3 separate regions of the Homo sapiens genome follow, and regions 1 and 2 are each linked to region 3. Evidence: promoter capture Hi-C in 16 types of primary human blood cells and fetal thymus (Javierre and others, 2016). All regions are on one chromosome and are shown on one strand. Each heading gives the region's core, a stretch centred on a gene start or on the middle of the fragment in contact. The rest is flanking DNA. Distances are from core to core; before and after follow the strand shown.

Region 1 (4,414 bases), core at 681-3,180, 480 kb before region 3:
TCAGCCTAGCAGGGGGTACAGCAAGGTGCAGGGCTCACGGAGGGATGACCTCTGTCTTCATTGCCATCTCCCCACCAGCCAAACCCAGGTCCAGCCCAGGACACCCCTCTCCATGGGGCGCCCAACTAATGCCCTCTCTCCTCTTCATAACTGGGTCACTAAGAGTCACTACTTACTGCAGGGAATAGCTTCCTCACCCTTCACCCCACGTCCCTCTGTGCTCCACCCGGGAGCACCAGGACACTGGCCTCTCCTGGTTCTCCTTATACCTGCAGAATGTTCCCTGGATCCCTGGAAGCCCCCTTGCCCTCTGGGCCCCTCCTCCAGGGTTCCCCTCCCGGGTCTCTCTCTTCCTCTCCAGCTACTCAGCCCAGCTCAGACACTGCGCCCAGGTGCCTGTCCCATGTCTCCTCCAGGATAAGCGTCTCCCATTCTACAGCCCTGCAGTCCAACCAAGGTCTACCAGCCACTCGACAAATACATCCTGAGCACCTGTGGGAGCCTGGTCCTGGGCTGGGTCCAGGAGGGCCAAGGGCAGCGCCCTGATCTGGCCTGCCCGACTCGGAGGCCCAGATAGATGTTCTCCTCCCTCCTCCCCTGGTTGAGCCAGACCTGCCCCCTCTCCTGTCCTCTGCCCTTCAGCCAGTGGACATACAGGTGGTGAGCAAAGGCAGGCTTTGTCAGGCTTACTTTGGGCCTCCTGGGGACCTTGGGGAAGTGACACATGTCCTTGGTCTAAGCTTCTCCATGTGTAAAATGGGTCTGACACTCCCTGTGAGAATTACAAGCATGTAAAGCCAGTATTTAATTCCTATGGCGTGCAGAAATGTTGAGGTCCCCGTCGCTGACTTCAGGGCTTCAGACACTGGAACCCCTGACCCCGCCCTTACACCCTTTGATTTCCAGGGACACCAGCTCCGTGGGGACTCCCAGCTCATCTTCTCAGCTTCCTCCCTGACATCTCCATCCACTCCCTCTGCCGCCCGCTCATCCCCCACAGTCCCTCTTTCCAACCCCTCCGCCTCCGCTTCAGGTCTGCGTCTCTCCCCGCCAGAGCCACATCCCAACACAAACCGAACCCCGCCTCTCCTGTGCAGGGGACCCTCCCGCGGGGGCCTCTGCTCCTCAGCTGGCCTTCGAGGCCCCTGTCCCCTCAAATCCGGGGACCCCTGGCCTTCCGCCCCTTCTGCGGCGCTGACAGCCCGCGATTCGCCTCCTCAAGATTCGTCTCAAGTGCCAGCGTGCACCTGCACCCGTCCGCCTCGGGCGCGCGGTGGTCCCCGGCCCCTGTCCCCGCCGTCGCCGGCCACGGGGAGGGGGAAGCCCGCCTCGAGCGCCCTCTGGGGGACCGACCGCGAGCGGAGGCGCTGGGCGTCGGGAAGTGCGCACCCAAGTCCGGGGCCCGGCCGGGATGGATCTCCGGCGCGCGTGGGTCGGGACGGCGCGGCGCGGGGACCCCGCGGGGAAGCGAGTAAGGGCGCGAAGGATCCGGGCTCAGCGCGCAGCCCGGCAGGGCCCGGCTCCGAGGACGCGGAGCCACCGACGGAGACGCGGATTCAGGGGCCGGGAGAGCTACCCCTGCGCCGAGGCGCGGCCCGGCCGCCCTGGCCCTGACCCGGCTGCGGTCCCCGCCCGCCCCTTCCTCATCCCGAGGTCCCGCGCCCCAAGCGCCGTGCTCCCCTCAGGCGTCCGCGCACCAGGGCCACCGTGTCCCCCGCCCGTACCCGGCGGAGCGGTCTCAGCGCCCGCCCCAGGTGCGCGGTACCCCCTCCCCGGCCAGCCCCACGCTCGGGCGGGTGGCCCGTTCGCCGCGCTCACCGTCCAGGAGTCCCAGGCAGAGCCACAGTCGCAGGCACAGCGCGGCGCCCCGCTGCATCTCCGGCCGCTGCGCGTGGGTCCGACCCGAGCGGCCGCGGCTCGGGGCTGAAAGTGTCCGCGCGGGCGCCGGCTGGCCTGGGGCGGGGCGGGGCGGGGCGGGGGCCGGAGGCGGGCCCGGGATTCAGGCCGCTCCCCGCGCCCCCCTCCCCCCGTCCCTCCCAGCCCGCCGCGGGGCGTCCGGTGCACCCGAGCAGTGCGCGCTCCGCACCACAGGGTCCGGGCCCCCTCCTGGGCGGCTCCGGGCGCGGGGACGCGGGTAACGCAGACGGTCTCGCGATGCGCTCCGGAGGTGATGGAGCCTGGTGGGCAAAGGGGAGCAAAATGCGGCACGCGCTCTTTTCCGTCCTTTCTTTCCATCGGTAAAATCTAGACTAAACAAGAAAGCAATCCTTGTAAAAATAGTATGTTACATCTTTGAAAATAGTGGCACCAGCCGGCGTAACATAGGGAGACCCAGTCTCAAAAATAAACAAGCAAATAAATAAAATAATACGCCGAGCTTGGTTGTGCGCGCCTGTAATCCCAGCTTCTCGGGGGGGCTGAGGCAGGAGAATCGCTTGAACCCGGGAGAAGGAGGTTGCAGTGAGCCGAGATCGCGCCACTGCACTCCAGTCTGGGAGCCAAAAAAAAAAAAAAAAAAGCAAAAACAAAACCCGTTCAGCAGTGTTTACCTGCACAGTGTCGACGGACAGTGTCGACGGAAGCCGCACCCGTGAGCGGGACACCCGGGATGACCGACCCCCTCCCTGCAGGCCTGGCCTCCTAGCTTTAGAACTCCCCCAGATGTTTTGTTCTCAGCTCAATCAGGACCCGCCCCCACCTTTTTAATAAAGCGACACTTTGCTTTTGCTTTCTGACTTGGCAACCCTCTTACAGACTTCCGTTCTCTTTTCAGTTTGTCTCTAGAATTTTCCTGTTTAATAATGAAGCCCATGACCATGACTGTCTCAACCTCCTTCCCTGCTTTTCGTTTCATTCACATTTTCCATCCCCCCACCCCCGCCCCCCAAAGCCCTTTCATCCTCGCCAAAAAGCAAGAGTAGATTTTCAATAACCACTACCAGCTCTCTCCAATCCAGGTAAGAAGTGGCTATATTATTAAGCTGGAATCACAAATCAGTGCGGATAGTGTAGATAATTTAACAAATAAGGTTGGGGAAACTAGGTAACCAAGCGATACATGAAGTTAGGTATTTATCAATCATATATTGATTTTTTTTAGCTTTGAAAGATTATGAGATGTAACACACTTATGGAAAGTACATAATATATCAGCATATTATAAACCTGAATTTTAAAGCAACAAATACCTGTGTTTCCATTCTCCAGGCCAAGGGATGTAGAATGACATCCCCACATCCCCTCACTTCCCATCACAAACCCCTCACCAACCCCAGAAGATGCCCACTACCCTGGCATTATCATTTCCCTGCTTTTGTTTATCATTTTATCATCAAAATATATGTTTTGCTTTTTTTTTCAGAATGTACTTTTTTTTTTTTTTCTCAAAGTCTCTCTTTTGTTGCCCAGGCTGGAGTGCAGTGGGACGATCTCACTGCACTGCAATGCAACCTCTGCCTCCTGGGGTCAAGCAATTCTCCCGCCTCAGCCTCCTGAGTAGCTGTGATTCCAGGCACCCGGCACCATGCCCGGCTAATTTTTGTATTTTTAGTAGAGATGGGGGTTTAACCATGTTGACCAGGCTGGTCTCAAACTCCTGACTTCCTGATCTGCCAACCTCAGCCTCCCAAAGTGCTGGGATTATAGGCATGAGCCACTGTGCCCCGCCCAGAATATACTTGTTTTTTTTTTGTTGTTGTTGTTGTTTTAGACAGGGTCTCACTTTGTCACCCAGGCTGGAGTGCAGTGACATGATATCTGCTCACCGCAGCCTCAGCACCCCCCGGGCTCAAATGATCCTCCCACCTCAGCCTCCCAAGTAGCTGGGACCACAGATGTGCGCCACCACACCCAGTGACTTTTTTGCATAGCTGGGTTTTCGCCACGTTGCCCAAGCTGGTCTTGAACTCCTGGGCTCAAGTGATCCACCTGCCTCAGCCTCCCAGAATGCTGGGATGACAGGGATGAGCCGCCGCATCCAGCCAGAATGTGCTTTTAAAATTTTAAAGTATACTTAGAGGACATAAGTGCAGATTTCTTAATTCATATATTGTGTACAGGTGAAGTCTGGGCTTTTAGTGTACGCGTCACCTGTACAGTGGACACTCTACCCAAAAGGTGATTTTTCAGTCCTTACCTCTTGCCCTCCCTCCCTGCTTTTGGAGTCTCCAGTGTCTATTACTCCTCTCTGTGTGTTTGTGTCCCTACAGTTTAGCTCACATTTTGCTTGTTGTTTTTTTTTTCCACTTTATCTCAGTGCCTTCATACCATTTATATTCTTTTGCTCAACACCATTAGTGAGATTCATCTATATTGCTGTGATGATCTATACTTTGCTCATTTTCGTAACTGCATAGTTTTCCACAGTAGGATACACCACAATTTGTCCATCTACTATTAATGGAAGTTTGAGTGG
Region 2 (4,613 bases), core at 1,300-3,799, 350 kb before region 3:
CCAGAGGCCTTGTTCCCCATAATTTGGAACTTTTCTCTGGATTTGATCAAGTCGGGTAGAGTTGGTCAAACCTAATGGGAAAGAGACCAAAACAACAAAAACAGAAACTAACAAATTTTTAAAAAGCAGTTAATCAAAACAAACAAATGATCACACAATTTATATTATTACTGAGCACTCTAATGGTAAGGAGGAATTAAGACCAACTGGTTGTTCATCTTAACTTTAGTGATTAAGGAGAATTTCCAAGACAAAACCCCCATTCAGCTACTTACCTAGGAATGAGACCTGGCTAAAGACTGTGCTCTACTGAGGGAGAAGACCACCCCTCATATTGTCTCATGCCCAATTTCTGCCTCCAAAGAAAGAAGAAGTAAAAATGAAAAGGCAGAAATGAAATCCACAAGCAGACAGCCCGGCGCCACACCCCGGGCCTGGTAGTTAAAGATCGAGCCCCGGCCTACTCGATTATGTTATCTGTAGATTCCAGACATTGTATGGAAAAGCACTGTGAAAACCCTTGTCCTGTTCTGTTCCAATCTGATTACCGGTGCATGCAGCCCCCAGTCGTGTACCCGCTGGTTGCACAATCGATCACGACCCTCTCACGTGGACCCCCTTAGAGTTGTGAGCCCTTAAAAGGGACAAGAATTGCTCACTAGGGGAGCTCAGCTCTTCAGACAGGAGTCTTGCCAATGCTCCTGGCTGAATAAACCCCTTCCTTCTTTAACTCGGTGTCTGAGGAGTTTTGTCTGCGGCTGGTCCTGCTACACTACTATCCTAGAAGTAGGAAAAAACTCAAACTTGCTTTCCCTGTTGGAAGTGGGCTGAAATTCCACAAAGGAGTTGCCTGCACCCCATTATCATGGAAGCAGGAAAACTCTCCCTCCTTGTTGAAAGTGAATAAAACTCCAGAAAAAGAGTTTCACAGCAGAATAATCCTTAAACCTCAACCAGATTTTGGAAGATCAGGGATTCTCTGGAGACAGGAGCTCCCAGGGCTCAGCAAATTGTCCAACTGATTTGAGCAATAAAGGTAGCTCAAGCTGGCACCAAGTACCCGTAGGAGATTTGCCAAAGGTCAGGGGTAGCTCCACTCAGAATCCCTTCATGGTTACCATGTAAACCAAACAGTATCTGAGACAGAGCTCAGTCAATTTAGAAGTTTATTTTGCCAATGTTAAGGACATGCACCCAGGACCCAAGTCTGTGCCTTTCTCCAAAGATGATTTTGAGGGCTTCAATATTTAAAGGAAAAAGGGCAGGTATTGCAGAAAGAGGAAGACATTTTTAAAAGGTGTGGGTAGATAAAAGGCAAGTGGTTGCCTTCTTTTGAGCCTTTGATCAGCCGTCCACATGTAAGGGAGGCAAAGGAATAGTCAGCTAGCTGGGGTGAATCTGCACTTTCACATAAGATAAAGTAGGGCAGAGGAAGCAATCACATATGCATTTGTCTCAGGTGAGCAAAGAAATGGCTGAGTTCTTTCCTTTGTCCCATCACTGCGAAGATAGACTATCAATTTACATTGTCAGGGTGGAATTCAACAGAACACTTTTAGGGTAAAGATCTTGCCCACAAGGGCAAATTGTGAGGGAGGCATGTAGCTTTTTTATTTGTGAATGGAAGGCAGGTTTGTGTGACACAGTTCCCAGCTTGATCTGTCCCTTCGGCTTAGTGATTTTGAGGTCCCAAGTTGTATTTTCTCTTCACAATATGTGTACGTATATTGGTTTATGTATTGGTTTTCAACCCAGGGTTCCTGGCTCATAATTCCCACAGCCCTTGTTACAGTCTTTTGTTACAGTGTTGGGTGAGTCAGGCCTCAGGGGCAGGACTCTGACCTTCCACTGCCCTGAGGCAGGACTCAAGGCCCTCCCATGAGAGGGTCCCATCCTATACCCTGGGGGAAGGAATGCTAAAGTCATGAAGCTTCCATAAAAAACCAAGGGGACTGGGCCGAACACGTGGAGGCCGACAGGAGGGTGAAGAACTCGTCCACATGCCGGGAGGGTGGGGCACCCCAGCTCCACGGCAACAGAAGCTCCTGTGCTTCCAGGCCTCACCCTATGTACCTCTTCGTCTGGCTAATTATCCATATCCTTTAAAATATCCTTCTTAGTAAACTGATTCTCTGTGAGCAACTCCCCCAGATTAATCAAACTCAAAGAGGGGGTTGTGGGAACCCCAACTTGAACCCAGTTGGTCAGAAGTTCTGGAGGCCCCAACATTCGATTGGTGGGGTGGGGCAAGGATGAGTCTTGGGGATGGAGCCCTCAACCTGTGGGATCTGGCACTATCTCCAGGTAGACAGGGTTGGAACTGATTGGAGGACACCTGGCTGACGTCCACCGCTTGGGAGTGGGGAGAGGTCCCCACACGTTTGGTCACAGAAGTCTTCTTCTGTGTAGATGATTGTTGCAGTGTGAGAGCGGAGGGAAAACATGGTTTCAGGAGAGTCTTCCCTCACACTATGTGATTGGAGCAAAAGGACAAGAAAGATGAACTGAAGGACAAAGGAGAATTTAGGGAGAATCAGGGGCATCGGTTCAGCTGAGGGAGGGGCGTTGGAACCACAGCTGCATGCTGTCTAACTGGGGTGGAGAACTGCTAGGGCTTGGCCTGGAGCCAGGCGGGCATCAGGGCAGGCTCCAATTCAAGGGAGCAATATGACAAGGACAGGGAAGTCACACTTGATATTTCAGGTGAGGCCTCACCCAAGATTTTGATTTTTTTTTTTTGAGAGGAGTCTCGCACTGTCTCCCAGGCTGGAGTGCAGCGGTGTGATCTCGGCTCACTGCAAGCTCCGCCTCCCGGGTTCACCCATTCTCCTGCCTCAGCCCCCCGAGTAGCTGGGACTACAGGCGCCCTTCACCACGACCAGCTAATTTTTTGTATTTTTAGTAGAGACGGGGTTTCACCGTGTTAGCCAGGATGGTCTCGATCTCCTGACCTCGTGATCCACCCACCTCAGCCTCCCAAAGTGCTGGGATTACAGGCGAGAGCCACCGCACCCGGCCAGATTTTGATTTTTAAAAACCCAGGTATGAGGCCATCAGGCTCTGTTCTGCAGTTTCAGAACCAACTGGCTTGATTCATTCATAAGGAGGCCGAGGACTCCCAGCTGTCAGTAGAGGGCAGCCGTGCCCAATGAAGACCAAGTTCAGGTCAGAAGCTTGCTCAGCAAGCCAAGAACCAAAGATAGTTAATCTGGGCAGGGCGGTTATGTATGAATTTTATTTTCCTTTTATTTTTCAATGTTTTTAGGTAGTTACACGATAAGCACATATTACTTATATACGAAAAAAGTTATTTAAAAAACAATATTCATTCTTTACCTTTCTATCAAGTGGTACAGAAAATTATACGGTATATATTTGCCGTGTGGCAAAATATTCCTCGTTGGATCATGTCAGTGGAAAGAGTATGGTTCTTCTTTGTATTAGTCTTTCAACTTCCCTGTGAGTTTGAATATTTTCATAATAAAAACTTGAAAAACAGAATATAAAATTGAAAAAAAGTTTTGGAAGGAAAAAATATTCCCATCCTTTAATTCAAGAACATCTACGTAAATAATAGAACCAGTCTCCTAGATGACACTGCTCCCCACCCTTGGATGCTGATGAGTAAATGTTTTAAAATTCTATTCTCAAAATATTTGTTCAAACATTCCATTCTGGTCACATAAAATCTTCCACCGTTTCAAGGACAGAACACAGTATCCGAGAGTTCTGGTTTCTACTGTTGCTCAGCAAACTCCCGCAGAACTCAGCAGCTTAAAATACCCGTTTCACATTGCCCACCATTTGTGAGTCAGAAATTCAGGCAGCCCTCGGCTGGGCAGTAGTTGCTTAGGGCATCCCATGTGGTTGTGTTAGATGCTGGCCAGGGATGTCCTCACGGCCCCTGTGGGTGACGGTGGCCATGGGTGACGGTGGCCGTGGGCCACTCCCCAGAACCCTCCAGCAAGGGGCTCAGGGTAGTCAGATGTCTTCCATGAACTCCCTGGAGCTCAAGGCCCCAAGTGTGCCTGTTCTAGCAAGAACCAGGAAGAGGCTGTCTCCCTGCCATGACCTAATCTAGCAGCCACACAGCCCCATTCCGCTGCCAGCGTCCTGCAGGCCCCTCCTCAGGGAAGGCCCTCGGTGAAGAGTGAGGCCTGATCGCCGCTCACCTACTCCTGATCCTGAAAGGTTTTGCCCTTTTCCTAAATAGAAACTCTGAAAAGTAATCAAACAGTATTTCCAAAGGAGGCTTTTGGCAGGCTTGCCTCATTGCCCTTGCAGGGAAGGCTGCCTGTCTCTAGCCATCTTCCTCTTCTTACAGCTGTGCTGAGACGTTTTTGGCTGGGGCAGGGCTGCTGCACTGAGGGTGCATCCCACCTCCTGCAGGGAAGGCAGCCAGACCACATTCCAGTGAGTGGAACGTGAGGGAAGGCTGTCTGCCCACTGCTTTTGTTCCATAAAGAATGAGGCTTGCCCTCCCTTCCCCTCTCCTGCTTCCTGGTAGCTGAACCAGGGCAGCATTTGCTGTGAGCTGGGAGCCATGTGTTGAAGACGGCGGAACAACAAAAGTGAAGACAAAAAAGAAAACTGCATCACTGGCATGTGCCCTT
Region 3 (4,389 bases), core at 1,314-3,813:
ACTTTCTCTCACCTCCGTGCAGAAGGCTCTTCCCAGACTGGCCCTGCCTTGCTCCCTCACCTCCTCCTCGCCTTCTCAGCAAAGCCTTCCCTCAGCACCCATTTAGAGCTGAAATCCTTCTTCTTCTGCCTCCCTTCCCTGCCTTGGTTCCCACAGCAGGCATATATGCAAGGCAGGCCCCAGGCTGCTCATGTGGGTGTCTGTTCTCTGCTTTCCCAACTAGAACCCGTGTTCCCCGGTGCCACGGGTGCTCGTGGTGGGATCCCTGGCTCCCGGAACAGGGTCTGGCACATCTGTTATGAGCTCAGTCAATATTTGTTGAATGCATAAAAATTTTGTTGGCCAAGTACCCTGGCTCACACCTGTAATTCCAAAACTTTGAAAGGCTGAGGCAGAAGGATAGCTCGAGGTAGGAGTTTGAGACCAGCCTGGGCAACATAAACGAGACCTCATCTCTATTCAAAAAACAGAGAAAATTAGCCAGGCTATTGTGGCACACATCTGTAGTCCCAGCTACTCAGGTGGCTGAGGTGGAAGGATCGTTTGAGCCTGAAAGTTCAAGCTGGCAGTGATCTATGTTCACGCCACTGCACTCCAGCCTGGGTGACAGAGCGAGCTTTGTCTCCAAAATAAAAATAAAATAAAACATTACCTGGGCGTGGTGGTGTGCACCTGTAGTTCCAGTTACTTGGAAGACTGAGGCAGATCACTTGAGCCTAGGAATTTGAGGCTGCAGTGAGCTACGATCACACCACTGCACTCCAGCCTGAATGATAGAGCTATGACATTGTGTGATTTGGAGGGGGTTTCTACAGGAGCAAATCTGTTCCCACAGCGACCAAGCACCCTCTCAGCCATATCAACCAGCAAAATACACCAGATGCCCCAGCAGAAGAACGGTCTCCCAGCCTTACCACCATGTTCAGAGGCACCAGCCACTTGTGCCTCTCAGGACACAGACGGCAAGATCCTGTCTCAGAAAAAAAAAATTGTATTATGAAACACAACAGAATTTATTCTTGCCTCTCACTGGCTTATCTTCCTGCTCTCTAATTTCAGACCTTTCCGTTGGGTGTTTAGTTAATGGCTTCACTTTTCTTCCTAGAAACCACAACATAGAAGAAGCCACTGCATCTCTGCAATATTCTCCCCGGCACGGGAGGACCCCGTCCCACATCAGCCCCCTCCTTCCTGCTCCTTCACCTTCGCACTCCCCACACATCTGTCCTTGTCTTCCTGCTGTGGACCATCCTCCACCCCAGGGACCTAGAGCCCAGTCTCCAACCCAGACAGAGGGAGGGGGACGGGAAAAGGGGAGTAGGACACCAAGGAAAGAGAGAGAGGTGGGTCAAAGGAAGAGAACGAGAAGAAAGAGTGAGGAGAAACATCACACCAGAAGACGGATGCCCCTCCAAACACCCACACGAAACAGTTACACCCTGATGGAGGCAGACAGCAGGAGGAAGAGCAAGTGCTGATGAACAAGATAAATGGGGACGTGAACCAGCAATGGGAGCAGGAGCTGCAGGGAAGAGAGAGGGGACGACAGGACAAGACCCTCACTCACCTGTGGGTGGGTCCCTGCAGGGGAACAAACTCAGCAGAGTCACCTGTGGAGGAGTTCCTAGCGTCAGAGCCATGCACTCATCCTCCTGTGTTTGCTCCCACTGGGTCGGGGGACAGGAGGAGCCGCAGCCCCAACCTCCTTCCTCAGCCCGCACCGACTACTCATCGGGTTGTGGAGCCCACGGCACCCTCAGCCTCCAGTGGCCCCTCAGGCTCAGAGAGCAAGGCTCACACAGACCACAGCCTCCTCTCAGAGGGAGAAACAGGCTCAGGGAAGGAGCTGGTGCTGGCAGGAGAGGTGGAGCCAGGAGCAGTGCCCTGAGCCCACCCAGGATTCCCACCTGCCTCCAGGACACCCTGGCTCTGGCCAGGTGGCAGAACCGCCTCCCACTGCCCACACAGGTACTGAACCCAGACACGGGGTGAAGAGGGGAAGCTGACTTCAGACCTCAGCTCCCAGGGGACCCCACAGACTCCAGCCCTGGAAGAGGTGCTCCCAAGATTACAATTAAAAAGACCCACAGAGGGACCTGGGGACAGGAACAGGAGCAGGGCCAGTGGGGACAGCGTGAGGAAACCCAGCTGGGGGAGGAGGAACGCAGGGCAGAGGAATACAGGAATGCGGAGGACATTCTTGGTGCCCTACATTGCCCCCCCACACACACATCAGCACTTCCCAGCGACCTCCAGGGCCCTCATGGGGTCTCCATGTCACAGCTGTCCCTTGGGCCCTCGCTGCACCCCACACCTGTCCTTCACCTGCCCCCATTAAGTCAGCCTACATCACCCGTGACATGCAAAGCACTGGGTGGGGGGCTCTGGACACAGTCCTTGCTCAAGGGGTCTACAGCCTCGTGGGAGGGAAAGAACAGCCCCACCTTCACGAGAGTCGGGTGGAGCCTGGGGGCCTGGTTGGGATCCTCATAAACCTGACAGGCGTTTCTGCAGGGTCAGTGTCTTCGTGGGCTGCTGGGGATGGGGCTGAAGTCCACGGTTCTGATGCTGCCACTGCCTTTTACTCTCAAGAGCATTTCACATCGGAGGATGCATTTTATGGTCACTCTGTGGCTATTTATGTCCCATGGAAGCAGGCCATTTTCTCAGGGGCCAATGTGCTTGAAATCCCCTTGCCACATGGCTCAGACACCAGAGGCGTTTGTTCCTTCTGAATCTCGACTTCCTTGTGTGTCTTTGCTACCACACTTTTGGTGTGTGCCCTCTTCCTGATCCAGCTTCCAGCTATGGCAGGAGTCTGAGGAACATGCAGGCGAGGAGGCCATGAGGGAGACACAGGAAGACCGGGGCAGAGAGAGGTAGACTAGGGAGGAAGGGAATGGCCACCTCGCAGCTGGAGTGGGGCAGGCTGGCTTTTGAGGACTGGACCTGCAGCGTCTCCCACTCCTCTCCCACACCGGCCTTCTCCTCTATCCTCCTATGCACCCAACGCTTTCCACACTCACACTTTTTCTCCAGCCACTTCTCCCCACCGGCACTTCCTCTGTCTTCTTCCTCTGTTACTCTTCAGCCTTATCTAATTCCCCAAGACCGAGCTCAAGCCCACCTCCATTCAGATTCCTCCGGAACTCAATCCACCATGACCTCCGCCGGCCATGGCTTCCTGTCTACACTCTGGCAGCGTATGTCCATGGCCTGCTGACAGCTCTTGTATTGCCTTTTATCGTATTATTCAGGGGGAACTTTTGATCATGTGCAAACAAGGAAACACTTTTATTTTTGTACAGCCACTGCTTTTAAATAAGACATCACAATTCATTCTCCACATCTTCATGACATCTCATGCAGATCAAGAGTTTTCTGGTGACTTTGGGTGGTAAGACGAAGGCTCATTTATATATTCTAAAATCCAGTCCATTGAAAATCAAAATTTGAATCTCACATTCAATTCAGTGTTGGTCCCCTTGACACAGCCTAAATCAAGACTAACTTGGGGCTTGGAGTCCCACAGTAGAGAAGGGAGAAGAGTCTGCTAACAGCAATCATATTATGTGTCCTTTCAGATTTTAAGGGAGGTGGGGATACTCTTTGAAATGTCCGTTTTTCTCAAATAAGTTACTAGGATGTCTGAACTGATTTATTTGGAGAACTGCCCTGCATAAATAGAAGCACTGTCTTTTACATGAGTATCTTAATTTAAAAATGTTTAATCTGGCACGGTGGTGCGTGTCTGTGGTCCCAGCTACTCTGGAGGCTGAGGTGGGAGGATCATTTAAGCCCATGAGGTCAGGGCTGCAGTGAGCTGAGATCACACCCCTGCACTTCAGCCTGGGCAACAGAGCCAGACCCTGTCTCAAAAAAAAAAATTATTGTCTAGGACATTCAAATTTTCAACCTCCCCTAATTTTTGTACTAAAATGAAAGCAGCAGCTGTCACATAAATGTCCAGGAAATGTCATTATTGATGTTTCTCTGTTAAGAATTCTTCTTAAATGCTCATCCTATTATTATGTTTTATTCTTGATATTTTAGAGAAACTTACTGATGTATTTACTGAGGAAACTATGTGATTTCTGAAACTTATTTGTAGATAATCCAGTTGTGAAGGGGAGAGGGAGAGGTGGGTGGGGAGTAGACGGAACGGTGTTGACCCTGAGCTGCCAATTGCCAGCACCGGGTGGTGAGTGCAGAGAAGTTCATTATACGATGCTTCCAGGTTTTAGGTGTGTCTAAAATGCTCTATAACAAGAACCTGGAAGGTCACTCCACACTGGTTGAGTAAACTGTAATGTATCCACATAACAGAGTGCCGTACGACTGTAAAAAGAACATCAAGTGTTTCTTCTTCTACACTGGAGGGATCTTCAG

Evidence for each region. Contacts are between HindIII fragments. The CHiCAGO score rates a contact against its expected background, and 5 or more counts as called.
Region 1: the fragment with the promoter of FLT4 here is called in contact with the fragment with the promoter of OR2V1 in region 3 in 2 of 17 cell types (neutrophils and monocytes); the score reaches 5.6 in neutrophils.
Region 2: a contact is called between a fragment that was not itself captured here and the fragment with the promoter of OR2V1 in region 3, in 1 of 17 cell types (total B cells). The highest score is 8.9, in total B cells.

What each region holds. Positions count from the first base shown.
Region 1 is chr5:180,647,670-180,652,083 of GRCh38, forward strand. FLT4 (fms related receptor tyrosine kinase 4) reads right to left here and starts at 1,931. Exons shown (of 30, transcript NM_182925.5): 1 at 1,819-1,931. The coding sequence starts at 1,876. The HindIII fragment of the contact is 6,264 bases long and covers 739-4,414 here.
Region 2 is chr5:180,781,561-180,786,173 of GRCh38, forward strand. It overlaps MGAT1 (alpha-1,3-mannosyl-glycoprotein 2-beta-N-acetylglucosaminyltransferase), which reads right to left. Exons shown (of 2, transcript NM_002406.4): 2 at 3,220-4,613. Among named protein-coding and RNA genes, the nearest start is that of MGAT1, 19 kb to the right of the region's middle. RefSeq lists enhancers at 3,475-4,386, 4,387-4,613. The HindIII fragment of the contact is 1,243 bases long and covers 1,929-3,171 here.
Region 3 is chr5:181,128,606-181,132,994 of GRCh38, forward strand. OR2V1 (olfactory receptor family 2 subfamily V member 1) reads right to left here and starts at 2,564. Exons shown (of 4, transcript NM_001258283.2): 1 at 2,445-2,564; 2 at 1,568-1,610; 3 at 915-970. RefSeq lists an enhancer at 1,350-1,851. The HindIII fragment of the contact is 15,941 bases long and covers 1-4,389 here.